Regions from separate parts of the Homo sapiens genome. Here all the other regions are linked to region 5. The links are contacts of gene promoters, found by promoter capture Hi-C in blood cells and fetal thymus (Javierre and others, 2016). All regions are on one chromosome and are shown on one strand. Each heading gives the region's core, a stretch centred on a gene start or on the middle of the fragment in contact. The rest is flanking DNA. Distances are from core to core; before and after follow the strand shown.

Region 1 (3,690 bases), core at 425-2,924, 1.1 Mb before region 5:
TGTCTCAATATAACTTTATTTTCAAAAACAGTCAGTAGGCAAAATTTGGCCTGTGGGGAGTAGTTTGCCAATCTCCAATATAGAATCTATTTCCTTAGGTCTGTATGAGGATTAAAAAGTTAACATAGACTGTGCTCTTAGCACAGTGCTCTGCACATAGTAATTACTCAACAAATGTTGGCTGTTGTGTATATAATGGACCCATGGAATAGGTGTTAGTATGTCCCTTTACCGGGAAGCAAACTAAAGCTCAGAAGTAACTGAACAGTTTCTCCAAGATCTGACATCTCATAGTGGCAGAGTCAGACTTAGAGCACAGGCTTGACTGACTCTAAAACCAGTAGTTTTCTCAGCCATTTTTAGCCAACTTAAAGTTTGTATTAGAACCAAGACCAAATTTCATTGACCCAAGGGGAACCAAGTGTTTCGGGACTTGACTTAGACACTGGCAACCTATCAATTGATTAAATTGGGCTGCGGATCCCAATGAATGTTGCTGGAAAGCACACAACTTTTTGCCTTTGAATCCTGATTCCAGTCAGTAGGGAACAGGTGTGGAATTCATGTTCACCACCCTCTAAGGGTACTCACAGTCTTAGCCTTCCTTGGTCTCAGCATTGGTTTTTTATGGTACCAATGGATCAGCTGCTTTTGGTGAGCTCTAATTAAGTGCACAAATAGGGCAAGCTTCCCAAATCCCACATTAGTTCTGCTTTGGAATGCCAGAACTTTTCTACCATGGAAAAATGCTTCATGCCCTGACTCTTAACAAACCCAGCAAGTTCAAATGCATTTCTGGGAGGGACAAGAATCCCAAGCTGTTATGTGAGAAGGCAACGAAAGAAAGGGCTTTTCTTGAAAGGGGGAAACAAAGGGCATCCAGAAATGTCACCAAAATGCCCTGCAAACTCTCAAGCTTGCTCCAAGTTGTTCTTTGAAGGCCTCGGAAGTATGATGCATGTAACTCTTTCCTGGGTCAAGGATAGCATACTTAAACCTGAGAATCTGAAGCCAGTATCAGCAAAGATTTCTTTTCATATGTCAAATACAAGGAATAAAAAGGAAAAATAACTCATGCTAAATGGCACAGACTTTGTAACTTTCAAAACTCTCCACCTATTTGACTTGTTATTTCTCTCTCCTCTTCCTCTTTTCCTCATTTTCTTCCTTCTCCTCCTCCTTTTCTTTTCTACACTCACTCCAAAGTCCCATCTAATAACTGCTTGATTCTAGGGGGACTCTCTGGTACTGTAGCTGAGAAGACATAGTAATGGTTGTTTTTATGCATGTGAATTTAACAGCAATCAGCTGTTTGTTTTATATTTAATTCCACATGTGCCAGAGTAAAACCATTTAGGCTATAATCCCCCAAAGACACCACATGTCTGTCTATTCCCAGAGTTCAGTGGACCATTGTGTTGACATATTTTCCCTCATCAAAGGAAAGAAACTAGCTTGGCCTTCAACTTGATGCTCCCAGAGACAAAGCAATGATGGAAGCCACAAAGATTCACCCACCACTAGGTCTTTGAAGTCCCAGATCTAAGTAGATCCTACAGGCTTCATGCTGGCACCCAACCCAGGCCTCTGGTAAGACAGACATAATCCTTCCACTGGTCACCATGGCTTCCTGCCCAGGGAAAGAGCAGGCTCTTTGGGACTTTCTAGCTCAGGAGAGCTGAAGGGGCCTTCATTTAAGGTGGCCATAGTTTATTATCCCAATGAACTCACCTTTGAGTCCTAGACACTTTTTGGAAGGAAAGGGAATGTTATTATTAATAATTATGCCAAGATTAAGACATTAGCTAGGTCTGTCCTGGATATATTATCACCCTTCCACTTCATTTCCAAGGAGCTGCTGATGGTTTGGAGAAATGATTGTCATTGGGCACTTCTCTCTTAATGATGGTAAGAAACAGAAGTTTCAGACTTCAAATTTTGATTTTAATGCCTCTATTCTGTGTTGCTTCTTCTGAAAGATTCTACCAGATGTTTTAGACTTCCAAAAAGCAAAGATATACCTAGAAAATACTGAAGTATGCAACAAATACTAATTGTATCCAGGGCGGAAGCCTTTCTGATGATAGTGAAAGGGGAAGAGGTTCCAGCCCCACATGTGGGAAGGGCCATCTTCTTGAAAGTCTTAGAGTAGGAGTTCTCAAACTTTGGACCAATAAAATATTCAAACTTTTTGGAGATCTACAACATAATTGTCAGCTTTTTATTTGATTATATAAGGACTTTAAACAAAGCAACTGCTCCATATTTACTCTCACCATTATTTCATAACCAAAAGGAGATTTTAATACCAAAAAAGTGGTTATCATGATATCAGAATAAAGGAGAATCATTTAAATAGTCTACATTTAATTTTGTTAAAATCTCAATACCCTGTCCTTATTGTTTCATTTCTCATGGACTAGTGAAGCTTTGTGAAGGACCTGCAGTGGGGACCAGCTGCACGAGTGTGTCACCCATTAAATTGGTGCCAGTAGAGTGGGGTGTTGCTGAAAAGATACCCAAAAATGTGGAAGCGGCTTTGGAACTGGGTAACAGGCAGAGGGTAGAACGGTTTGGAAGACTCAGAAGAAGACAGGAAGATGTGGGAAAGTTTCGAACTTCCTAGAGACTTGTTGAATGGCTTTGACAAAAATGCTGATAGTGATATGAACAATAAAGTCTAGGCTGAGGTGGTATCAGACGGAGATGAAGAACTTGTGGGAATGGGAGCAAAGGTGACTCTTGTTATGTTTTAGCAAAGAGAATGGTGGCATTTTGCCCCTGCCCTAGAGATTTGTAAAACCTTGAACTTGAGAGAGATGATTTAGGGTATCTGGCATAAGAAATTCCTAAGCAGCAAAGCATTCAAGAGGCGACTTGGGTGCTACTAAAGGCATTCAGTTTCAAAAGGAAAACAGAGCATGAAAGTTTGCAAAATTTGCAGCCTGACAATGCAATAGAAAAGAAAATCCCATTTTCTGAGGAGAAATTCAAGCCGGCTGCAGAAATTTGCATAAGTAACGAGGAGCCAAATATTAATCCCCAAGACAATGAGGAAAATGTCTCTAGGGCATGTCACAGGTCTTCATGGCAGCCCCTCCCATCACAAGCCTGGAGGCCTAAGAGGAAAAAGTGATGTTGTGGGCCGGGCCCAGGATCCCCATGATGTGTGCAGCCTAGGACTTGGTGCCCTGCGTCCCTATAGCTTGGCCTGTGGCTTCAGAGGGTGCAAGCCTCAAGCCTTGGCAGCTTCCATGTAGTGCTGAACCTGCCAGTGCACAGAAGTCAAGAATTGAGGTTTGGGAACCTCTGCCTAGATTTCAGAAGATGTATGGAAAAACCTGGATGCCCAGGCAGAAGTTTGCTATAGGGGTGAGGTCCTCTTGGAGAACCTCTGCTAGGGCAGTGCAAAGGGAAATGTGGTGTCAGAGCCTTAACACAGAGTCTCTACTGGGGTACCGCCTAGTGGAGCTGAGAGAAGAGGGCCACCGACCTCCAGATTCCAGAATGGTAGATCCACTGATGGCTTGCACTGCACGCCTGGAAAAGCTGCAAACACTCAATGCCAGCTTGTGAGGGCAGCTGGGAGAGAGGTCGTACCGTGCAAAACCACAGGGGCAGAGCTGCCCAAGATGATGGGAACCTACATCTTGCATGAGTGTGACCTGGATGTGAGACACAGTCAAAGGA
Region 2 (3,461 bases), core at 675-3,174, 1.2 Mb before region 5:
TCATTTTCCTTTTCTTATTGATTCAAGTGGATATTTGTCCATAAACACGTCATGACTTAATTGAAAGAAAATTTCCAAACTGGACTTTAAACTTTTGAATTTGCTTGGATTCTACCTTTTCTGTGAAGGCTTTTTTGAGCTCTCCTAAGACAGAACAAATGGCTCCATTTTATGTAATACTTCTTTACCTTTTTCAGGCTTCCATTATTGTACATATTATGCTTTGGCTTTATTATTTACATTTGTAATTTGTTTTTGCCTTGTAACATGTTTGTTGTTCTCTTTTACTAGTTCATGAGCTCTTCAAGATTGGGCCTTGCCCTTTGTATTTTCATTTCTGGAGCCTGGAATATCACTCAGCACAAAGTATATACTCAATAAAGGTTTTCCTGGCCAGGTGGGTTTACATATTTGGTTTCTATAAGCACTACATTAATGACTCCTAAAATAGCTATGTCTGTTTGACTTGTCTGTACAACACTCAGCATTCATTTCCCAGAAGGAAACTAGGTCACATCTGGGACACATGAAAAGTTTTAAGAAGAGTTGTGTTTGAAATACAAAACCCTGAAGTGTACACCAAAGATAACCTGATCATGCCAAAAAATTATAACTGATAAAAACTTTATTTCATTATTACATTTTTGGTCTTTGCTCTTTTACTTCTTTATTAAGTTTATAGTAACAGAATGATTTACACATGTTGAAAAACAAAGCAGGATGAAAAAGGCAAAAAGTAAAGCAAAACATTTTACTTTATGAGTCTCTTACTTTGTGAATTCTCTCCTATGCTGGTTATTTTGTTTGGTTCTGAGGACAATTTGTGCACAAAAAATCCGAGACATCTCCATTCTCCTGTAAAAAACAAAACAAATAAACAAACAAACAAAAAGCTTGTGCTCAAAAGAGAAATTTAAAAATTTTTTAAATATCTGATGCTTTTATGAGGGTTTTCTGTTTTCTCGATAAAGAGGATCTGAGTGAAAGGGTCTCTCCTGACAACGATAACAAGTAGAATACTTTTTGTAAACAAGAAAGGCATTTTGAATATCTGACTTTGTTGGTTTCCAGGACCAACAACAGAATTTGCTGGATACCCATGAACCTTTCACTGTGCCTATGCTAGACACTGTGAATAATATACTTTGGGGGCACTGGTTACTTTATTGTTAAAGTCATTCTTCAACTTGATCTTTTCTTGTGAAAACAAGGTAAAATTTCTTTTCTGAGGGAATAGCATTTGAAAATTGTAAATCATGCAAAAAAATGGTTAGGCATGTAAGAAAAATGGCCATTCCATTAATTATGTTCATGTCTGCTCACTTCCACTCTATACCCAAGTTCACAAAATGACAAGTGAAAAATCATGTACTTGCCTTTTACTGTACTATTTTCCTTTAAATCTTACTTAAACCTAGAATAGTATTTTATGTCTTCCATACATACTAGCATTGTTGTTTTCCAGGCTTGCTGAGTTGAACAGACAATCCTCATTGTCTCTCTTTCTTCTGTTCACATTCCAAATTTGGGAAATGGGATCATCTGACACAAAGGATCTGAATCTTGTGTCTCAGATTTTTGTGAAATCTGCTTTACCTTGTCTTATTCCCTTTTCTTCAAATTTATCAGCATTTATTGAATATCCACTATAAAGATGCCTGCCTCTGTGCAGGGCCTGTAGTAGGGGTTTAATAATGAGACTCTATTTTCTCCAACTTCTTCCATTTTATAAATATTCATTTTATCAATCAGGGCTCTAGTCAGAAAGAGAGTGCACACCCATAGCTGACAGCATGGAAGGTGATATGGTATGGCTCTGTGTCCCCACCTAAGTCTCATCTTGAATTATACTCCCATAATTCTCACATGTTGTGGGAGGGAACCGGTGGGCATTTTCCCCATACTGTTCTCATGGGAGTGAATAAGTCTCATGAGATCTGATGGTTTTATCAGGGTTTTCCACTTTTGTGTCTTCCTCATTCTCTCTTAGCCTGCTGCCATCCATGTAAGATGAGAATTGCTCCTCCTTGCCTTTTACCATCATTGTGAGGCTTCCCCACACACGTGGAACTGTAAATCCAATTAAACCTCTTTCTTTTGTATATTGTCCAGTCTCAGATATATCTTTATCAGCAACATGGAAACAGATTAATACAGTAAATTGGTACCAGTAGAGTGGGGCATTGCTGAAAAGATACCCAAAAATGTGGAAGCAACTTTGAAACTGGGTAACAAGCAGAGGTTGGAACAGTTTGGAAGACTCAGAAAAAGAGAGGAAGATGTGGGAAAATTTGGAACTTCCTAGAGACTTGTTGAATGGCTTTGACAAAAATGCTGATAGTGATATGAACAATAAGGTCCAGGCTGAGGTGGTCTCAGATGAAAATGAGGAACTTGTTGGGAACTGGAGCAACAGTGACTCGTTTTGTTTCAGCAAAGAGACTGGCAGCATTATGCCCCTCCTCCAGAGATCTATGGAACTTTGAACTTGAGAGAGATGACTTATGGTGTTTGGTGGAAGAAATTTCTAAGTAGCAAAGCATTCAAGAAGTGATTTGTGTGCTGTTTAAGGCATTCAGTTTTAAAAGGGAAACAGCGTAAAAGTTTGAAAAATTTGCAGCCTGACAATGTGATAGAAAAGAAAATCCCATTTTCTGAGGAGAAATTCAAGATGGCTGCAGAAATTTGCATAAGTAATGAGGATACAAATGTTAATCCCCAAGACAATGGGGAAAATGTCTCTAGGGCATGTCAGAGGTCCTTATGGCATCTCCTCCCATCACAGGCCCAGAGGCCTAGGAGGAAAAAGTGGTGTTGTGGGCTGGGCCCAGTGTCCCTGAACTATGTACATTACCTAGGGACTTGGTGCCCTAAGTTCCAGCCACTCCAGCCATGGCTGAAAGGGGCCATTGTAGAGCTTGGGCCATGGCTTCAGATGGTGCAAGCCCAAGCTTTGGCAGCTTCCACATGGTGTTATGCCTGTGGGTGCATAGAAGTCAAGAATTGAGGTTTGGGAACCTCTGCCTAGATGTCAGAAGATGTATACTAGGGCAGTGTGGAAGGGACCTCTGCTAGAGCAGTGTGGAAGGGAAATGGGACTAGAGTCCCTTCTGGGGCACCACCTAGTAGAGCTGTGAGAAGAGGGCCACCGACCTTCAGACCCCAGAATGGTAGATCCACCAACAGCTTGCACCATGCACCTGAAAAGCCACAGACACTCAATGCCAACCCATGAAAGCAGCCAGGAGCAGGGCTACACCCTGTAAGGCCACAGGGGTGGAGCTGCCCAAGGCCATGGGAACCCACCTCTTGCATCAGCATGACCTGGATGTGAGACATGGAGTCAAAGGAGATCATTTTGGAGCTTTAAGATTTGACTGCCCTGCTGGATTGCAGACTTGCATGGGGCCTGTAGCCCCTTTGTTTTGATCAATTTCTCCCATTTGGAATGGTTGTATTTA
Region 3 (3,326 bases), core at 336-2,835, 1.2 Mb before region 5:
CCCCAGTGCAACTGGCAACAACACAGATTATGCTCTGAATATAAAGATCAAATGCCCAGTCTGGATCTTCACAAGAGAGGGCGTCCCTTCTGGATGCCTCACTAGGACTCCAGCTCACTGTGGCATCGGGTCCTGTAGTTTACTGTAGCTCTGCAACATGCCACTCCATTCTGTCATTCTTGTCTTTTCTTCCTCACCTCCCCCAGCTTTTGTTCTCTTTGGCTCTTTTGAAAGCCACATTTATGTTCTTCGCATATGGGAAGTATTTTTGGTCAAAATTTAAAACCTGTAATGCGTTCCTTGGCAAAATGATTTGCTAAGCAAGTCTGGCTTTAACTTGAAAGAAAAGCTTTCAGTAGGCAACAAAACAAAAATCTCACAAACCACTCTGGCCACACTGCAATTCTTATTCATCAAAGCTAAATATACTTTACATGCATGTATTAAATAAAACCACCTTTCTCAGTGCAAGGAGGTGTGTATTGGAGTGATTAAAATTTTTATTACTGAGCCACACGTGGTTTCTAATAGAATTATATATAGACATTTATATTTTTTCCTAACACGGTGGCTTTATAGTAGGAACCAGAATGATTTTCTTAGGGATTAACCTCCTAGCTAGGAGGCAGAGAGAACCATGGAGAAACAATATTTGTAGAGTGCCTATTGTCTGAAAGGCATTGTGCTAAGGGCTTTATCCACAGTTCTTTCACTGAATCCTTACCACCAACCCTAGGAGGTAGGTAGCAGAATGATCCCACCACAGAGGGAAAGACTGAGGCTTAGACAGGTTAGCTATGTTGCCCAAGGTCTTTCAGCCCTTCTCCTTTCTATCAAGCTGCTCCTCACTGTTGAGATGCCAAAGGTGTCCTAGTGTTGCCATGTGTTTTTGCCTAATTTCTGTGTGTTTTCCTTTCTCTATAAAGCAGTGAAAACTCAGGTCAGGTTTGGTTTGGATACGAGTTTGCTTGAAAGAATGGCCAGCACCCGGAGCTTGGCAATCAACAACATGAGCACTGCAACTAAAGAGCAGGTGGTGGGCAGGATTCCTCTCCAGCTGTTACAGTGGGGTGATACCTAAAGTTTTGCATCCAGGCAGATCTGGATTTGAATCCTATCTCTGCTACCATCTGGTGACTCTGGGCAAAGTGTCTATCTTTTCTGAAACTCAATTTTCTCAACTATGTCTTTTCTGAAACTCAACTTTCTCAACTATAAGGTGGAGATAATGCTGCCTACCTCACAGTGCTGTAGGAGGATTGGAGAGGACATACAACAAGGACTTGGCAGATAGTTGGTAATTATTCATGCTTTTATGTCTGCCTTTTGTATCCACAGACAACCACCGCATTCACCAGGGTTTTGTGTGAGCAGGTCCAGGCCTGCCCGTTTCTCAGTGAGTGATAATCAGCTTTTGCAGCTGAAGCCTGTTTGACCATAGACCTGACATCTTGCTTAGATCCTGCAATACCCGACTCCTCTTCTGTAGTGATCCCCAATCCTCCTTTATCCCTAGTGCAACCTCTGGCTAGGATCTATGAATGCACTGGGCTTCCTTCTGCTTTTAGGCCAGCTAGATCAGACACGCACACCCACCTTCACTCGGGGCTATGCCTAAGGTCCCTATATCCTTTGGATACTGTAGAATGCTATTGCAGAGCTGACCTTCATAACTGGGGTGCTCACCCTTCTCCATGCTTACTACAGTTACTATTTTGAGCATCTTCTAGGAGCAGAGCCCTGTAATAACACAGGCATGGACCATGCAATTGAGCCGAGTGCTTTATATGCATTATCTCCTTTAGTCCTCATTATAATCCTGTAAAGTAGGTACTATTAACATATTCAGGCCAGGTGCGGTGGCTCACGCCTGTAATCCCAGCACTTTGGGAGGCCGAGGCGGGCGGATCACGAGGTCAGGAGATCGAGACCATCCTGGCTAACATGGTGAAACCCCCGTCTCTACTAAAAATACAAAAAATTAGCTGGGCGTGGTGGCGGGTGCCTGTAGTCCCAGCTACTCGGGAGGCTGAGGCAGGAGAATGGCGTGAACCTGGAAGGTGGAGCTTGCAGTGAGCAGAGATCAAGCCACTGCACTCCAACCTGGGCGAGAGCAAGACTTCGTCTCAAAAAAACAAAAACAAAAACAAAAACAAAAAAACCAACAACAACAACAACAAAAAAAACATATTCATATTCAATACCTATTCATTTCAAAATGAGGAAACTGAGACTTAGGAAGATTAAGGACCTTTCTCCAAGTCACCCATCTAGTAAGAGGTAAGACCAGGCCTAGGATCCCAGGCCAGGGCTCATAGCTGTTACACCATATTGTTTTTCATCCCACCTTCTCCTTCCTCCTTTTCTGACTGATGGGCTCCATGCAGCAGGTACTTTTTTTTTTGTAATTGTAGCATTTCTCATAATGTACTGTCATCAATCTATTTGTCTATGTCTCTCATTAAACAGGGAGGTTCCTGAAGGCAGGGGCCATGTCTTATTTATTCCTGTAGACCAGTGCTTACCACAACATGTGGCACAAAGTACTCCAGAGGATGTTTATTTACTGAATTATATTGGCTTTTTCTTCTCTACCTGCTGTCTTTTGCTGAAGTCTTAGCATGTCCTCTACCCACACTCATTTGAGCTATGACAGCTCTCAAATCAACGTTAGCAGTTACTCTTGGGTCTGAAATTATGTGTGGGTGTTGACATATTTATGTATGTATATGTATGTGTATGTCTGTGTGCGTTTGTGTGTCTGCTGTGGTATCAACTAAAACAGCTAGTTTTCCCAGTGCTTGTCTACATCAAAAGCTTTTAGCCATCAGGTTTCTTCAGTTTCCTTTAATCTGGAAACTTCCCACAGCCTTTCTTTGTCAGTATGACATAGATATTTTTGAAAAATATAGTCCATTAAAAAATAAAATGCTTCCCATGTTGCGTTTGTCTGATGTTTCCTTCTGATTAGATTCAGGCTCTGCATTAAAATGCTCTTTCTTTTCTCATATCTGGAGGCACACAATGTCCATTTGCCCATCTGAAGTTGATTTGGATCACCTAATCAAGATGTTGTCCTATTTCTTCCCTGTATACTTAACGTTCTTTTTCCTCTTGTAACTAATAAGCAAATTCTGAAGAGATATTTTAAGATTATGCATATATCCTGTTATTCTTCAAAATTCCCTCCTGGATCCATCGATGATTCCTGCCTATACCTGTCTTTAATATGATGATTGTGAAATTACAATTCTGCAAATAAATGTGGTATCTGACCCTAGACTAGATCCTGCACAGGAGGGGAAAATGCCATAAAAGACATCGAC
Region 4 (3,719 bases), core at 801-3,300, 1.2 Mb before region 5:
TTCCTTCAACACGCATTAAGAAATGGCTAGTTGTTCTCTTATTTATTTTGCTTTCTTTTCCTTTTGACACAGTCATCTTTTGACCTGCACCTGGTATTCTGTGTAACCCCCATGAATTGGAGACAAAAATATCAATTGAGAAGCAGGAAGGGATGAGAGAAAAAGAGAGTGGGAGAGGTCTTTATCATTACTCATGATATGAAAACTGGCACCTCATTTATAATTTTAAGTACACTATGTGCACACATTTACATATCTTTAGAGTGTTGACTATATGGGTGTATACTTCATCAAAATTCATCAAGCTGTACATTAATATCTTTGTATTTCACCTTATGTGTACTATATCTCAATTTAAAGTTTGCAAAAGAAAATGAGAAAACAGAACTGCATGTCAGTATATTTATATTTTATTTTATTTTCAATTATAAAAATGCCTACCAAGAGAAAAAAAAATTTTTAGACGCCCAGTCCTCTAATTTTGACTCTAAAACATACCTCAAATTGGTCTCTTGGTCATAAAGGAGGGGAGGAGTGGAAGCTTTATAATTCTGTAGGAAATGGAGGCATTAGCAGAAAGATACTGGGTTTTAGAGATAAATGGGCTTGGGGTTGGATCCAGGCTCTGCTACTTATCAGATGTGTGAATCAAAGCTCAGTTTTCCCATTTATTAAGTGGGAATAATAATATCTACTCAGTGTTGTTGAAAATTCCAGTATCCCATTCTCTGACCACTACTGCCTAACTGGTCTCTTGACTTCCACTTTGGTTCCCCTTATAGCAGTCAGGACCAGTCTAGGTGATTTTTCAGAAGCAGAGAAAATAAAGGGCAGTGATTAAAATACAGACTGACTATAACAGACTGCCAGAATTTGAAACTGGATTTTTACATTTACTAGCTGTATAATCACGGAATAATTACTTAATTTCTTCATGCCTGTTGCCTCATCAGAAAATGGGGATAAAAATATGCCTTTCATAGGACTGCTATGAGAAGCACGTGAGTTATTTGAGGTAAAACACAACAATGCCAGCATATAGTAAATGCTACATAAACTTTAGATATTTATTATCCCTTTAGCATGCAAGCTCCATGTGGCCAGGGGTGTGTATTGGATTCATGCACCACACCAAGAACTGTGCCTGGCCAGAATAGTTAATCTATAAGGATTTGTTAAATGAATCAATGAATGATTTTACCTCTCTGGGCTGTTTTTACCTACAACACTCCTGACACCAAATGTATGGGTTTTTTCCTCACACTCACCAATTCTCCAACTCTCCTGCCACCAATTGCATGACTTATAATTAAATTTGATTCAATTCTGACACTGACCCCAGTTAGTTAGTGTCAGACCCCACAGCTTCAGGGCTCAGTCCAGCAAGACTGCCCACACTTCAGATGCCAATCACAAGTCCTGGGTCTCCTGTATTTCTGACCAACTGACCGCAAATTGGAGGTTTCCACAAACTCCACCCCCCAAGGCTTGATAATTTGCTAGAATCGGCTTATGGAGTTCAAGACAACGGTTGACTTACTATTACCAGTTTATTATAAAGGATAAAATTCAGGAACAGCCAAATGGAAGAGATACATAGAGCAAGGTATGAGGGGAGGGAGGTGCAGTGGTGCAGTGAGCTTCCATGCCTCCTCCAGGCATGCCATCCTCTCAATACCTCCCTGTGTTCACCAATCCAGAAGCTGTCTAAACCCCATCATTTAGGGGTTTTTATGAAGGTTTCATTACTTAGGTATAATTGAGTAAATCATTGGCCATCGGTGATTGACTCAATCTCTAGCCCCTTTCTCATTCTGGAAGGTCAGGGGAGGGGCTGAAAGTTCAACCCTCTAATCATGCCTTGGTCTTTCTGGTGACCAGCCCCCATCCTGATGCTACGGAGGGGTTCTCAGCCATCAGTCATCTCATTACCATACACATGGAGCTTAATCTAAGCTCCATAAAAGTGAAGTCCTTGGCTTTCCTTTCTTTGAAGTATCCCTAGCTTTTAGCAGGGATTCCAAGAATTTTAGAAGCTGTGTGCCAGGAACTAGGGACAAAGACCAATATTTATTTTTTAACACGTCCTTGCAACAGTGTTCCATCGCTTTTTGAATAAAACTCAAATGTCATAGGGTGGACTAGAACTTCAGGATGGAGTTTATGCAGATGTCTCCAGTCTCATCTCATGCCCTGCTTACTGGGCTGGCCATGCTGGGAACACACTGGCCATCTTGCTGCTGGCTGAACATGCCAACCTTCCTCCTGCCTAAGGCCTTTCTGAATCTCTCAGGAATGGTCTTCTCCAGGATCTTTGACTGTCTGGCTTTTTCCATATGATTTAGGTTCTCTTCAAACATAATATTGAAAAGACTGCCCTTGGCCACTCTTAGCAGAAGCAGTGCACTCTCCTAAACATCTATGACATCATCTCATTTTCTTTTCCTCATAACCCTTGATAGCACATCATCATCTGAAATTATATTTTTAATTGTTTATTGTCTGCCTGCTTCTCTGTGGTCCTCACCTCTGCTCTCCTCCCTCCTGAATCTAAGCTCCATGAAAGTGGAGTCGTTGGCTTTCCTTTCTTTGAAGTATCCCTAGCTTTTAGCAGGACATTTGTTAAATGTAAGGTGAAAGTGCAAGTTTATTGAATGCCTATTTTACGCAAGGTACTGGTATACAGATCTTGCCTCCCTTGATCCTCACTAACAGTCTCTGAGGAAGGTCTTATTATTTAAATTTACAATGAGGAAATAAAGGCTCAGAGAGGTTAAGTACTTGCTTAAGCTAGTAAAGGGCTAAGCCAGGATTTGAAACTTGCTTTAGCTCATGAATAAGACCAGGCCCATTCCTTAAGAAGCTCACAGTCAACAGGCAGATCTCCAGCTTTAGTTCATGACAATTTATTTTCTTCTGATGACTTTGGGGCCCTGTAAAGCCCTAAAAGCCTGCTTTCTTCACTGTCAAAGACAAATTCAATTATGGTCATTATATTGTGCTTACAAAGGCAGGAAGGTGGATTCACTGATGTATAGAATGACTGTTCATATTAATTATTGAAACAAACAAAATTACTGCCAGCTGTATGACCCTGAGCAAGACCCTTCCCCTCCCTGGGACTCACTTTCTTTATCAGTAGAATGAGGGGGTTGGAGTAAATTATCTCTGAAGTCTTTGCCAGCTCTGCAATCTGTTGGTTTTGTGCACATGTGGTTTTCTGATTAACTCTCAGTTGACAAGTTACTCCTTATTCCTCACGGTACATTCTATTAGGGTTTTGCTCAGCACACTCCGACAGAGAATATACCCACAGTGTTTTCCTAGCAAGGGAAAGTTTCATTCCGATTCAGTCATGGGCAAATACGGCACAGGGGAGTGGTTTTATACTAGGTAAGGCCATCAACCTCTGTTGTGATACTCTGAGATGGGGTCCTAATATATGGCCTGGCTGCAAAAGAGTTGGATCCAAACATGAATAGGGAGCAAGTATTCATCCCATCTACATGAGTTTGACTTACTTCTTATGGATTTCTCAAAGTAAAAATAGGAAGCTTCTTGCTAAAAGCATCAGACAGATGATAGGTTCCAAAACTGCAAGCTGTCACTCATCTAATAATCTATTGTTGACTGGAAAAAAATATGATCTTGCTGATATGTGAGGCTGAGAAGGTATATAGTACTGCCGTGAGCTGTAATTAAATAATAGTAACTCAATA
Region 5 (3,866 bases), core at 1,010-3,509:
CCTTGTAAGGTAGGTACTTTTATTATCCCCATTTTACAGATGACAAAACTAAGGCACAGAGACGTAGCTTGCCTATAACATCATATAGGAATGATCTTAAGGGCTAATATAAGAAGCATGAATTTTATCTGGAGAGCCGAGAGCACCCCCCTCACTCTACTTAACAGAGAGGAGGTGGGCACAGACTTCTGATTTAGAAAGTCTTCTTGGATGCAGGGTGGACCGAGGTCGGAGAGGGGAAAAGAAACTAGAACCTGACTCAGATATCTGTCCAAGGAAGACCTGAACAGAGACAGTGGGGATAGACAGCAGAGGACTATCCCACAATTCCTCATGTTTGTGGATAAGAAATTGTCCCTCACGCGGATCACGAGGTCAGGAGATCGAGACCACCCTGGCTAACACGGTGAAACCCCGTCTCTACTAAAAATACCAAAAAAATTAGCCGGGCGTGGTGGCAGGCGCTTGTAGTCCCAGCTACTCAGGAGGCTGAAGCAGGAGAATGGCATGAACCCAGGAGGTGGAGCTTGCAGTGAGTTGAGATCATGCCACTGCACTCCAGCCTGGGTGACAGAGCGAGACTCCGTCTCAAAAAAAAAAAAAAAAAAAAAAAAAAAAAAAAAAATTCGCCGGGCGTGGTGGCTCATGCCTGTAATCCCAGCACTTTGGGAGGCTGAGGTGGGCGGATCACCTGAGGTCAGGAGTTTGAGACCAGCCTGACCAACATGGAGAAACCCTGTCTCTACTAAAAATACAAAAAAAAATTAGCCAGGCTTGATGGCTCATGCCTGTAATCCCAGCTACTCGGGAGGCTGACGCGGGAGACTTGCTTGAACCTGGGCGGCGGAGGTTGTGGTGAGCCGAGATCACGCCATTGCACTCCAGCCTGGGCAACAAGGGCAAAACTCCGTCTCAAAAAAAAAAAAGAAAAAAGAAATTGTCCCTCACATGTCTCTGCTTCCTCTGTCTGTCAAGGCAGAATATATTTCAATCTTCCTGCCTCAGGAATTGCGTGAAAATTAATGGGACAGAGGCCCAGCTGGCTTTCATCTGCTAAACAACACCCTTGCACGACTGGTGGTGCACATTAAATGCTGAACATATAAAATGTGCTTTGATGGAGGACCTGGGAATAATTATAGCTTGCTAATTATTGTTAATTTTACCACAGCTTTGAAACTCTAGACTTTCTCAATGACTCAAAAAGAGATTGCAACCCCTGTATGCCATGAAACTAGCCACACAGTGGCAGACAAGCAATTTCTCACAGGCTCCATTCTTTCATTATTTACATGGTTCAGCTACTTACGTGGGATACAGGAAAAGAAAAGCAACGATTTGCTGTGTTAGAATCAAATTGTACAAAAAACTCTTTACAGTCTTGCTGGCTCTTTAAGAATTTGTTCCTGTTTGTCTCTTTATAGCCAGTGCACAAATAAATATTATGTGCGTGTGTGCCTGTGTGTGTGCGCTTGTGTGAGGTACAGAAAATTAGTGTTTAACAGAACTTTTAACCCTCTGGACACCAGGATACCTGTGTTTTACCCTTGATATGGTGAGTAACAGAACTGCTTCCCTAACTTCCCTTCAGATTCTGTGTCACTTCGTGTCCACAAACACTTTATTTAAGGTCTCATCACTCCTAGGCAGGGTGCCAAAGACCCCTCTCAGAAATATGAGGAAGTTGATAGCAGTGTGACTTCAGGTCTTTAAGCCTCATCAGTACCACCTATAAAACGGGTCTGATAGTCCCTACCTGTCAGGACTGGTGTTAGGATGAGATAATGTTTGTGAACTGTAAACTATATAAACGTGTGCTACTGTGAGAACTGGACAAAGAAGAGAGGGAGTGAGAGAAATTAAGGGAGGGCTGGGGCTGGGAAAGAACGAAAAGGGAGTCGCGTATAGAGGAGAGCGCGACAGTCGCGAGCCACACTTTGCAATGAAACTCTTTAGACTTTCTGCCGGGAGAGCGGCCCAGACGCGCCAGGTCTGTAGCAGGAGGCCGCGCCGAGGGCGGGTCCCCAGAAGCCTACAGGTGAGTATCGGTTCTCCCCTTCCCGGCTTTCGGTCCGGAGGAGGCGGGAGCAGCTTCCCTGTTCTGATCCTATCGCGGGCGGCGCAGGGCCGGCTTGGCCTTCCGTGGGACGGGGAGGGGGGCGGGATGTGTCACCCAAATACCAGTGGGGACGGTCGGTGGTGGAACCAGCCGGGCAGGTCGGGTAGAGTATAAGAGCCGGAGGGAGCGGCCGGGCGGCAGACGCCTGCAGACCATCCCAGACGCCGGAGCCCGAGCCCCGACGAGTCCCCGCGCCTCATCCGCCCGCGTCCGGTCCGCGTTCCTCCGCCCCACCATGGCTCGGGGCCCCGGCCTCGCGCCGCCACCGCTGCGGCTGCCGCTGCTGCTGCTGGTGCTGGCGGCGGTGACCGGCCACACGGCCGCGCAGGACAACTGCACGTGTCCCACCAACAAGATGACCGTGTGCAGCCCCGACGGCCCCGGCGGCCGCTGCCAGTGCCGCGCGCTGGGCTCGGGCATGGCGGTCGACTGCTCCACGCTGACCTCCAAGTGTCTGCTGCTCAAGGCGCGCATGAGCGCCCCCAAGAACGCCCGCACGCTGGTGCGGCCGAGTGAGCACGCGCTCGTGGACAACGATGGCCTCTACGACCCCGACTGCGACCCCGAGGGCCGCTTCAAGGCGCGCCAGTGCAACCAGACGTCGGTGTGCTGGTGCGTGAACTCGGTGGGCGTGCGCCGCACGGACAAGGGCGACCTGAGCCTACGCTGCGATGAGCTGGTGCGCACCCACCACATCCTCATTGACCTGCGCCACCGCCCCACCGCCGGCGCCTTCAACCACTCAGACCTGGACGCCGAGCTGAGGCGGCTCTTCCGCGAGCGCTATCGGCTGCACCCCAAGTTCGTGGCGGCCGTGCACTACGAGCAGCCCACCATCCAGATCGAGCTGCGGCAGAACACGTCTCAGAAGGCCGCCGGTGACGTGGATATCGGCGATGCCGCCTACTACTTCGAGAGGGACATCAAGGGCGAGTCTCTATTCCAGGGCCGCGGCGGCCTGGACTTGCGCGTGCGCGGAGAACCCCTGCAGGTGGAGCGCACGCTCATCTATTACCTGGACGAGATTCCCCCGAAGTTCTCCATGAAGCGCCTCACCGCCGGCCTCATCGCCGTCATCGTGGTGGTCGTGGTGGCCCTCGTCGCCGGCATGGCCGTCCTGGTGATCACCAACCGGAGAAAGTCGGGGAAGTACAAGAAGGTGGAGATCAAGGAACTGGGGGAGTTGAGAAAGGAACCGAGCTTGTAGGTACCCGGCGGGGCAGGGGATGGGGTGGGGTACCGGATTTCGGTATCGTCCCAGACCCAAGTGAGTCACGCTTCCTGATTCCTCGGCGCAAAGGAGACGTTTATCCTTTCAAATTCCTGCCTTCCCCCTCCCTTTTGCGCACACACCAGGTTTAATAGATCCTGGCCTCAGGGTCTCCTTTCTTTCTCACTTCTGTCTTGAAGGAAGCATTTCTAAAATGTATCCCCTTTCGGTCCAACAACAGGAAACCTGACTGGGGCAGTGAAGGAAGGGATGGCATAGCGTTATGTGTAAAAAACAAGTATCTGTATGACAACCCGGGATCGTTTGCAAGTAACTGAATCCATTGCGACATTGTGAAGGCTTAAATGAGTTTAGATGGGAAATAGCGTTGTTATCGCCTTGGGTTTAAATTATTTGATGAGTTCCACTTGTATCATGGCCTACCCGAGGAGAAGAGGAGTTTGTTAACTGGGCCTATGTAGTAGCCTCATTTACCATCGTTTGTATTACTGACCACATATGCTTGTCACTGGGAAA
Region 6 (3,632 bases), core at 539-3,038, 1.1 Mb before region 5:
ACTTCCTCATCTGTAAAAAGAGGGTTTGTGTGGGATGATCTCTAAGGGCCCTTCCAGTTCTCAGTTCAGATTCCTATTTTTCCAAATGCTAATAGTGTCTACACTCTTAGGTACACATTGCTTACTATTAACACTCATCAGATCCTTTTTGCGAGCCACTCGTCATTTCAGAAATACCTGCACTTGCTGCACTTTTCCTGGGGGCTAGACAGAGAGATGAAGGACACAGTGTGAGGTAGGTAGACAGAAAGAAAACAATTGAAAGGCCTCTTGGAAGGAGCACTGGACTGGGAGTCTGATGCTATGAGGTTTAGTCCTGGGCCCCCGCCACTTGCTCACCATGTGAATCAGGGAGGAAGAAAGCATTTACTGGGGCCTTTTATGCATGAGGCACTTTTATACATATTATCGTACTATTTCACACATTTTAGTAATTCAGGTCCTATCTTCACAATTATTTTCTTTTCTCAAGTACTACCTATAGTATTGATTAGTCATAAAATATTTCTTTAAGTCCTGGGAAAAAAACTTTTCTTTCTTTTTAAAATTTTCTAGGGAAAAATGTTCATGAAAACCCAGGTTTAATGCTAGGTACTTTTCTAGTATCTATTAAAACTTAGAAAAAGGGTGTCTATAAACCAGGACGTAGAATGCCTGAATGTCACTGGTGGTATGTCTGTACATTTTGGAAGATGACACTTGATCTTATTTTATCTCCATTTTTGGCTGCTGGTGCCCATGGAATTCAGCAACTCATCCAATTTTGAACCAGCAGAACTCACAGCAATGTGCTGGTTCATATTTCTCTCACTTTTAGAAGGAATATGTTCTAGAAAGTTGCATACACAGAACTTCCATGATTTTTAGATTTCATAGATGGCAACACTTCCAAAATGACTTGGGAGACTGACATATGGTTAGAAAGTTTTTATTTTGCTAAGAAGAAGCTCAAAGTTTTCTCTGACAAGTAATATATAAAAAAAAAACCCACAGGACTTTCTACATCAAATGGTTGGGAGGGGGACATCTCAGGATAATATGTCATTTAAGAAGAAAAAAATTAGCTTAAGGAAGAACTCATGACATTCTGCTTACTCTTCCGTATTTCTGACTAGTAAAAACCCTGTTATGGACCAGCCACGGTCCAGGCCCAGCACTGGTTGACCACAGTGTAATGGGCTTTGGAATCAGGCAGATCTGAAAGTCCTGGTTTTGTACTAACTACATGTACAGGGTTGGGAAACCACTTATCTCCCATGAGCCTCAACTTCTCATTTGTAAACTGAGGATACTGCTCATTGCCGTCAAGATTATATGCAATAAATTTGTAAGATGCCTAGCACAGTGCCTGACTCATTGAGTAGGAACTCATTAGGTCGTAATGACCACTTAGTAACTTTTACCACTCTCATTGCATCTACCAAGAAAGGTTGTCATGAGGATACAACATGGAATGCATGGGCGAGTGTGTTGCAAGCTCCTATGTGTCCTACAGCTGTAACTCCTCCTTTGGGTCTCCACTTAGAAGTTATTTTCCCTGGGAAACTCTCCTTGACCCACCAGGTTAGGTAAGAAGCCGCTGCTCCCGGTGTCATGGCACCTGTCCTCTCCATCTTTTCACTTGTCATTGCAATAAAATTAGTGGGCAACTTTTCCCTCTCCCCAGTAGGCCCACCAGAACTCTGAGAGGGTAGAGAATATACTAGTCTTGCTTGTCATTGTTTCTCCACCATCTAGCACATAGTCACTGCCACATATAGAACTCTTTTAATTTGTTAAATAGATACATGAATTGATGGAAGGATTAGTAGGAGTTTTCAAACCTGTTTTGTGGTACTATGCTTAAGGCTTGATTGTCTTGGCTATGGGCTTACATCAACATTTCCCAATTTTGGTACTTGAAACTTTAGCAAAGTAAGATGCTCCATGAAAAACTAATTCTTCGATCAAGTAAATTTGGGAAACACCATACTCTCTATGCCTATCCAACCTGGGAGATTCACAATGCATGTTTACATTTTAAAGTCTTAACAGATGCCTTGCTATGAAGACGCCTAGTTAGAGCTGGGTACTGTGAAGTACATCCATAGTCCCAGCTACCTGGAAAACTGAGGAGGGAGGATTTCTTGGGCACAGAATTAGAGTCCAGCCTGGGCAACACATTGAGACCCCATCTCTTTAAAAAAAAAAAAAAAAGACACCTAGTTATCTTGAACATCATAGCAGTTTTCAAACTAATTTTTTCCAGAAATACTTTTTAATATATCGAAGAAGACTCTGAGAAATCCTGGCCTGTGGAGACCTTGGTCTCTGAGAAAATATTTCTCATGGTTTCTACCAATTCTTTGTCCTGGTTGTCCCTTTCCCATTGAAAACTTCATAGCCAAGGATCAGAGCAGGCATGCATACTGGGCATGACAAAAAAGGCTATGTAGACAATGGAAACTTTGAGAAAACTGATAAGACATGTGAACCAGTCCACGAACTGACCAAAAGTATTTTGACATTGACTATGGAGGTCCTCACTTGTATCACATGGAGCTTTCAGTATTTTATTTATTTATTTATTTATTTATTTATTTATTTATTTATTTATTTAAGACGGAGTCTTGCTTTGTCGCCCAGGCTGGAGTGCAGTGGCGTGATCTCAACTCACTGCAAGCTCCTCCTCCCGGGTTCACGCCATTCTCCTGCCTCAGCCTCCCGAGTAGCTGGGACGACAGGCGCCCGCCACTGTGCCCAGCTAATTTTTTGTATTTTTAGTAGAGATGGGATTTCACCGTGGTCTCGATCTCCTGACCTTGTAATCCGCCCTCCTCAGCCTCCCAAAGTGCTGGGATTACAGGCGTGAGCCACCGCGCCCGGCCATTTACTTTTTTTGAGACAGGGTCTCACTCTGTTGCCCAGGCTGGAGTGCAGTGGCGTAACATTGGCTCACTGCAACTTCTGCCTCCCAGGTTCAAGCAATCCTCCCACCTCAGCCTCCCGAGTAGCTGAGACTATAGGCATACACCACCACATCCAGCTAATTTTTGTATTTTTTGTAGTGACAGGTTTTCACCATGTTGCCCAGGCTGGTCTCAAACTCCTAGGCTCAAGGGATTCACTGGCCTCAGCCTCTCAAAGTGCTGGGATTACAGGTGTGAGCCACCGAGCCTGGCCAGCTTTCCCAGTTCTGTGCACGTATATGACTTCAACTGCTCTTCCTCCTCCTCTTCCTTCCTCTTCTTCTCCTTCCTCTTCTCCTTCTCCACCACCACTACCATTACCACCAGCTTTCACAGTTCTATGCACGTATATGATTTCAATTGCTCTTTCTTCCTCCTCTTCTCCTTCCTCTTCTTCTTCTCCACCACCACTACCATTACCACCATTAATATGTATGACACGCTGCCTGTGCCAGGCACTGTTCTAAATGTTCTTCCTGTATTAACTTACTTAATCATCACAACGACCTTATGAGGGAGGTGCCAGTGCCACCTCCATTTTACAGAGGAGTAACTGAAGTGTAGAGAGGTTAATTAAGCCACAGGTTTGTAACATGGGTAGAACATTTTACAGATTTACACTAAGAAATTTTACTGATAGAAAACTGAGGCTGAGCATGTAAGTGATGCGTTCAGATGAAGCAG
Region 7 (3,687 bases), core at 73-2,572, 1.2 Mb before region 5:
GAATTTAAAGAGCTACAGAAGTAAAATTCTCTGGTCAAATGGGACAGCTCTGCCTCTTTGTACAACTGGATTAAAGAGAAAAGGAATGAAAATAAACTGAACCCTCACTCTGTGCCAGGAACTGGACCAGATGCTTTGTGTGCGGCAACTCAGCAATTCATTTAATCCTCACAGCAACTGGATGATGACGGGACTGGTATTACCTCCATTTTACAGATGAGGAAACTGAGGCTCGGTGAGGCTGATGCTACTCTGTGCAAGATGACACAGCTAATGAGAGAGCAGGATTTAAATCTGGGTCTCTCTGGCTTAACTGTATCTAGCAAGAGGAAGATGGGGCCTCAAACCTAGGATAAACAGGGCATTGGGAAGAGAGCTTAAACAGGGATTCGGAGCAGGGGATCAGAGCCAGATTCCAGGGGATTCTGACTCTTAGAACACTCAGAGGCATCATCATAGAAACTAGCAGGACTTACTCAGTGCCTCAACTTTATCCAATCCAGAAATCCCTCCTGGCCCTCACAAGGTATGCTGGAGGAATGACCAGACTGTCACTAACAACTTACAGGTAGATAAATCATATGGAGAATGCCCCCCACCCCCATCTCCTCTTCTCACTTCAGCAAAAAAAGGAAAGACAACAACAAAAAACAACTAACCCCACTGCTTCCTGTAATCAAAGGAATACGAACTGGCTAATCACCCAACCCCCTACAACCTTCTTAAGGTTAGGGGAAAATCTGGGCTCCTTCAGAAAAAAGGCCACCTGATAGGACTCATGGCGTCAGCTTCCTTCATCTCGGTTCATGCTTAAAAGGCCTCTTCACCGGGAAGCTTCCCAGTGAGGTTTTCCACGCACATCTGGACACTTTCCACAATAGGCCTTTGAAGAGGCCTGAAGTATTCCGGGAAAGTCTGCCTCACTGGGCTGAGGTTTAAAGAGCAGAAGCCCACATTTATTTTTCTTTCCCGCCTTCTTTGACAAAACTCCCCTCAGTGGTTTGTGGGCATTTGCAAAGCAGCCCTGATTTTCAGCTTGCTACTTCTAGGGCTGAAATCTTAAAGAAAATGAACAACAATAGAGCAAATTCAAAAGAGCATGGGTATCATCAAAGACTGTTTATGTGTTCTGCTCCTCCACCAGACTCTGAGTCGTGCTTAGTCATCTTTGTAGCAGGGAGAAAATGGACCTTGGCCTCAAGCCGACTTGCTCCATCACTCAGCATTGGTGACATTTTGTCGAGTCACTTAAACTGTCTGAGGCTCAGTTTCCTGACCTGTGAGTTAACAGGGGCCTGCCTTGCGTGGGCTACTAAACGTTCATGAGGTGGGTTAAGTAAATCACTTTGCATGTTGTCCGACATGGACTTTGACAGGTCTGTGCTGTCTCCTTGGCTGGGTCCCTCTCCACTATACAGGCTAACAGCTACTCATTGTTTACAACTCAACTCAGGTGATGGTTTTCTTCTCTGGCAATGCTTTACCTCTACCTCCCTCTTGCTTGGGCTAGATGAGGTATGTGTCCTCAGTGCTTTAAAACTTCCCTATTCTCTGATCTGTGGTTTATTGTTATTTTAGTTGTATGTCCACCATGCCCTGCCCCCACACCACTGTAATAATGTAGGCACCTGATGTCTTTCCACACTAAGCACAGTGCCTGGTATAACAATATGCTCAATGACTGCCAAGAGATTAATTAGTCTATTAGCAACTATTTATTGGCCCGCTTACTTTGAGTCAGGTGCTATTCTGGCTACTGAAGCTGTAGCTATGAATAAAACAGACATGGCCCCTGCTTTCATAAGCTTACATTCCAGTAGGGAAAGTCAGCAAGTACATTAAAGACATGTAGAGACTTGTGGTTATAGCTCCAACATGTAAAAACTGTCTAAGTCATTTATCCCATCCTTACTCCAAAAAAAAAAAAAAAAGCTAAGAAACTGCAAATCAGTGATTTTTGTTGGATCCATAAGAGAACTGAGGTTACAGGACAAACTATCACCCTGAAATCTGAAGAGAAAGGACAACCCAGACAGTCACAGCTGAGATCTTACTTGGAGGAGCAGCTGCTGGAGTCATAAACTGGTAGGGACACTTCAGTGGTAATTTGAAGTGTTGGGGGCTGAGTGTGGACTAATAGGAAAGCGAGCAACTCCTGAGGGTAACAGTCTTAGTGGAAGGGGGCCCACACTTTCATCGGTTTTACCTCCAGGAATCCAAAGAGTCAAGAATGATCCCCTCTTGGCTCTGGCAGGGGGAGGGAAAGCGTAAACACTGTAAAATATTTTTTACAGTGTTTTTCCATAACACAGAGTTCTCCATAATAAAGACCTTTTAAGAGGAAGAGACTTTACAAAAGCCTATTGCACACAGGGGAAGGACATCTCTTCAACTCTAGTGCCTGCAAGCCTTCTGTCTCACCTAAAGGAGTAGGGGCCTAAGAACATCTATGAAGGTCATAGCTCAGGGACATAGTCCCACTAAAAGACAGATATAATCAAAAGATTATAGAATGCTTTTCCTTCCCCATACCTTAAAACCACATCGACATGACCCCAGTATAATATTAGTGAATTACAGCTCAAAGAGCAGCAAGACATAGACTCTATCTAAGGAGGAGATCTTAGGGACGCCAAAGACAATAGTGGGGATGAAAAAATAAGGACAATAGAAGAATGTGAGGCCTCTGGCATGTACAACTATAACAAACATTAAACACAGTTCAATTTCTAACACAAAATGTCACATATAGACCTATTTGTCTCAGTTCCTATTACCAGATACATCATATCCATGTTTCAACAAAATATTAAAAGGCATGCTAAAAGGCAAGAAAAACACAGTCCAAAGAGAGAAAGCAAGAATCAGAACCCAACTCAGATATAACACAAATGTTAGAATTATCAGATAATTTAATGCAACTATGATTAATAAGTGTTCTAATAGAAAAAGTAAACACTATGCACAAACGGACAATGTAACGAGAGACGAAAATGCTAAAAAAGTATCTAAAAGAAATCCTAATAATAATAATAATGATAATAATAATAAAAAGACCAACAGAAACAAAGAAGGCCTTTGATGGCCTTAACAAGGACAAGGAAAGAATCAGTGAATTTGAAGATACATCAGTTAAAAACTTCCCAAACTGATATGCAAAAAGAAAAAAGAATGGAGGGAAACACCCAGGACACCCAAGAAAAATTTCAAAACGTATAACATATGCATGGTTAGAATATGAAGATAACAAAGTGAGAATGGAGCAGAAGAAATATCTGAAGTAATAATGGCTAAGAATTTCCCAAAATAAAGAAGAAACACCAAACAATAGATCCAGAAGTTCAGAGAACACAAAGTAGAATAAATATGAAAATATCGAAAGCTGAGCAAATCATAATCAAAATTAAAACCAAAGACAAAGAGGGAATTTTGAAAGAAGCCAAAGGGGGCAAGAAATCCACCTAATCTATAGAGAAACAAACATAGGAATTACAATGGACTTCTCAGAAAACCGTGTAAATAAAACTAGAATGGAGTAAAATATTTAAAGTATTAAAAGAAAAACCTCACTAACCTAGAATTCTATGCCCAATGAAACTATCCTTCAAACATGAAAGAGAAAGAAAGATATTCTCAAATAAAAATTTATTGAAAGGAGATCTACATTATAAAAAATGTTGAAAAAAA

The links. The method cuts DNA at HindIII sites, captures the fragments that hold promoters and counts their contacts. A CHiCAGO score of 5 or more calls a contact.
Region 1: a fragment that was not itself captured here is called in contact with the fragment with the promoter of TACSTD2 in region 5 in 8 of 17 cell types (total B cells, neutrophils, naive CD8 T cells and 5 more); the score reaches 9.5 in total B cells.
Region 2: a contact is called between a fragment that was not itself captured here and the fragment with the promoter of TACSTD2 in region 5, in 1 of 17 cell types (monocytes). The highest score is 5.4, in monocytes.
Region 3: a fragment that was not itself captured here is called in contact with the fragment with the promoter of TACSTD2 in region 5 in 9 of 17 cell types (total B cells, M0 macrophages, monocytes and 6 more); the score reaches 8.6 in total B cells.
Region 4: a fragment that was not itself captured here is called in contact with the fragment with the promoter of TACSTD2 in region 5 in 12 of 17 cell types (total B cells, monocytes, naive B cells and 9 more); the score reaches 9.7 in total B cells.
Region 6: a contact is called between a fragment that was not itself captured here and the fragment with the promoter of TACSTD2 in region 5, in 2 of 17 cell types (neutrophils and total CD4 T cells). The highest score is 8.0, in neutrophils.
Region 7: a contact is called between a fragment that was not itself captured here and the fragment with the promoter of TACSTD2 in region 5, in 6 of 17 cell types (total B cells, monocytes, fetal thymus and 3 more). The highest score is 9.6, in total B cells.

What each region holds. Positions count from the first base shown.
Region 1 is chr1:59,712,206-59,715,895 of GRCh38, reverse strand. The region is part of intron 14 of FGGY (FGGY carbohydrate kinase domain containing); the gene reads right to left. Among named protein-coding and RNA genes, the nearest start is that of MIR4711, 19 kb to the left of the region's middle. The HindIII fragment of the contact is 1,512 bases long and covers 919-2,430 here.
Region 2 is chr1:59,786,013-59,789,473 of GRCh38, reverse strand. LOC105378758 (a long non-coding RNA gene) reads left to right here. Exons shown (of 5, transcript XR_947426.3): 4 at 292-397. LOC101926944 (a long non-coding RNA gene) reads right to left here. Exons shown (of 3, transcript NR_110627.1): 3 at 642-855. Among named protein-coding and RNA genes, the nearest start is that of HOOK1, 27 kb to the left of the region's middle. The HindIII fragment of the contact is 2,058 bases long and covers 896-2,953 here.
Region 3 is chr1:59,763,257-59,766,582 of GRCh38, reverse strand. No RefSeq gene overlaps it. Among named protein-coding and RNA genes, the nearest start is that of MIR4711, 32 kb to the right of the region's middle. The HindIII fragment of the contact is 2,468 bases long and covers 352-2,819 here.
Region 4 is chr1:59,747,039-59,750,757 of GRCh38, reverse strand. The region is part of intron 14 of FGGY (FGGY carbohydrate kinase domain containing); the gene reads right to left. Among named protein-coding and RNA genes, the nearest start is that of MIR4711, 16 kb to the right of the region's middle. The HindIII fragment of the contact is 3,013 bases long and covers 544-3,556 here.
Region 5 is chr1:58,575,645-58,579,510 of GRCh38, reverse strand. It overlaps TACSTD2 (tumor associated calcium signal transducer 2), which reads left to right and starts at 2,259. Exons shown (of 1, transcript NM_002353.3): 1 at 2,259-3,866. The coding sequence starts at 2,355. The coding sequence ends at 3,326. RefSeq lists enhancers at 2,101-2,795, 2,796-3,491. The HindIII fragment of the contact is 7,313 bases long and covers 1-3,866 here.
Region 6 is chr1:59,693,255-59,696,886 of GRCh38, reverse strand. All of the region lies in intron 14 of FGGY (FGGY carbohydrate kinase domain containing), which reads right to left. Among named protein-coding and RNA genes, the nearest start is that of MIR4711, 38 kb to the left of the region's middle. The HindIII fragment of the contact is 5,575 bases long and covers 1-3,632 here.
Region 7 is chr1:59,728,552-59,732,238 of GRCh38, reverse strand. All of the region lies in intron 14 of FGGY (FGGY carbohydrate kinase domain containing), which reads right to left. Among named protein-coding and RNA genes, the nearest start is that of MIR4711, 2.9 kb to the left of the region's middle. RefSeq lists an enhancer at 1,028-1,322. The HindIII fragment of the contact is 971 bases long and covers 837-1,807 here.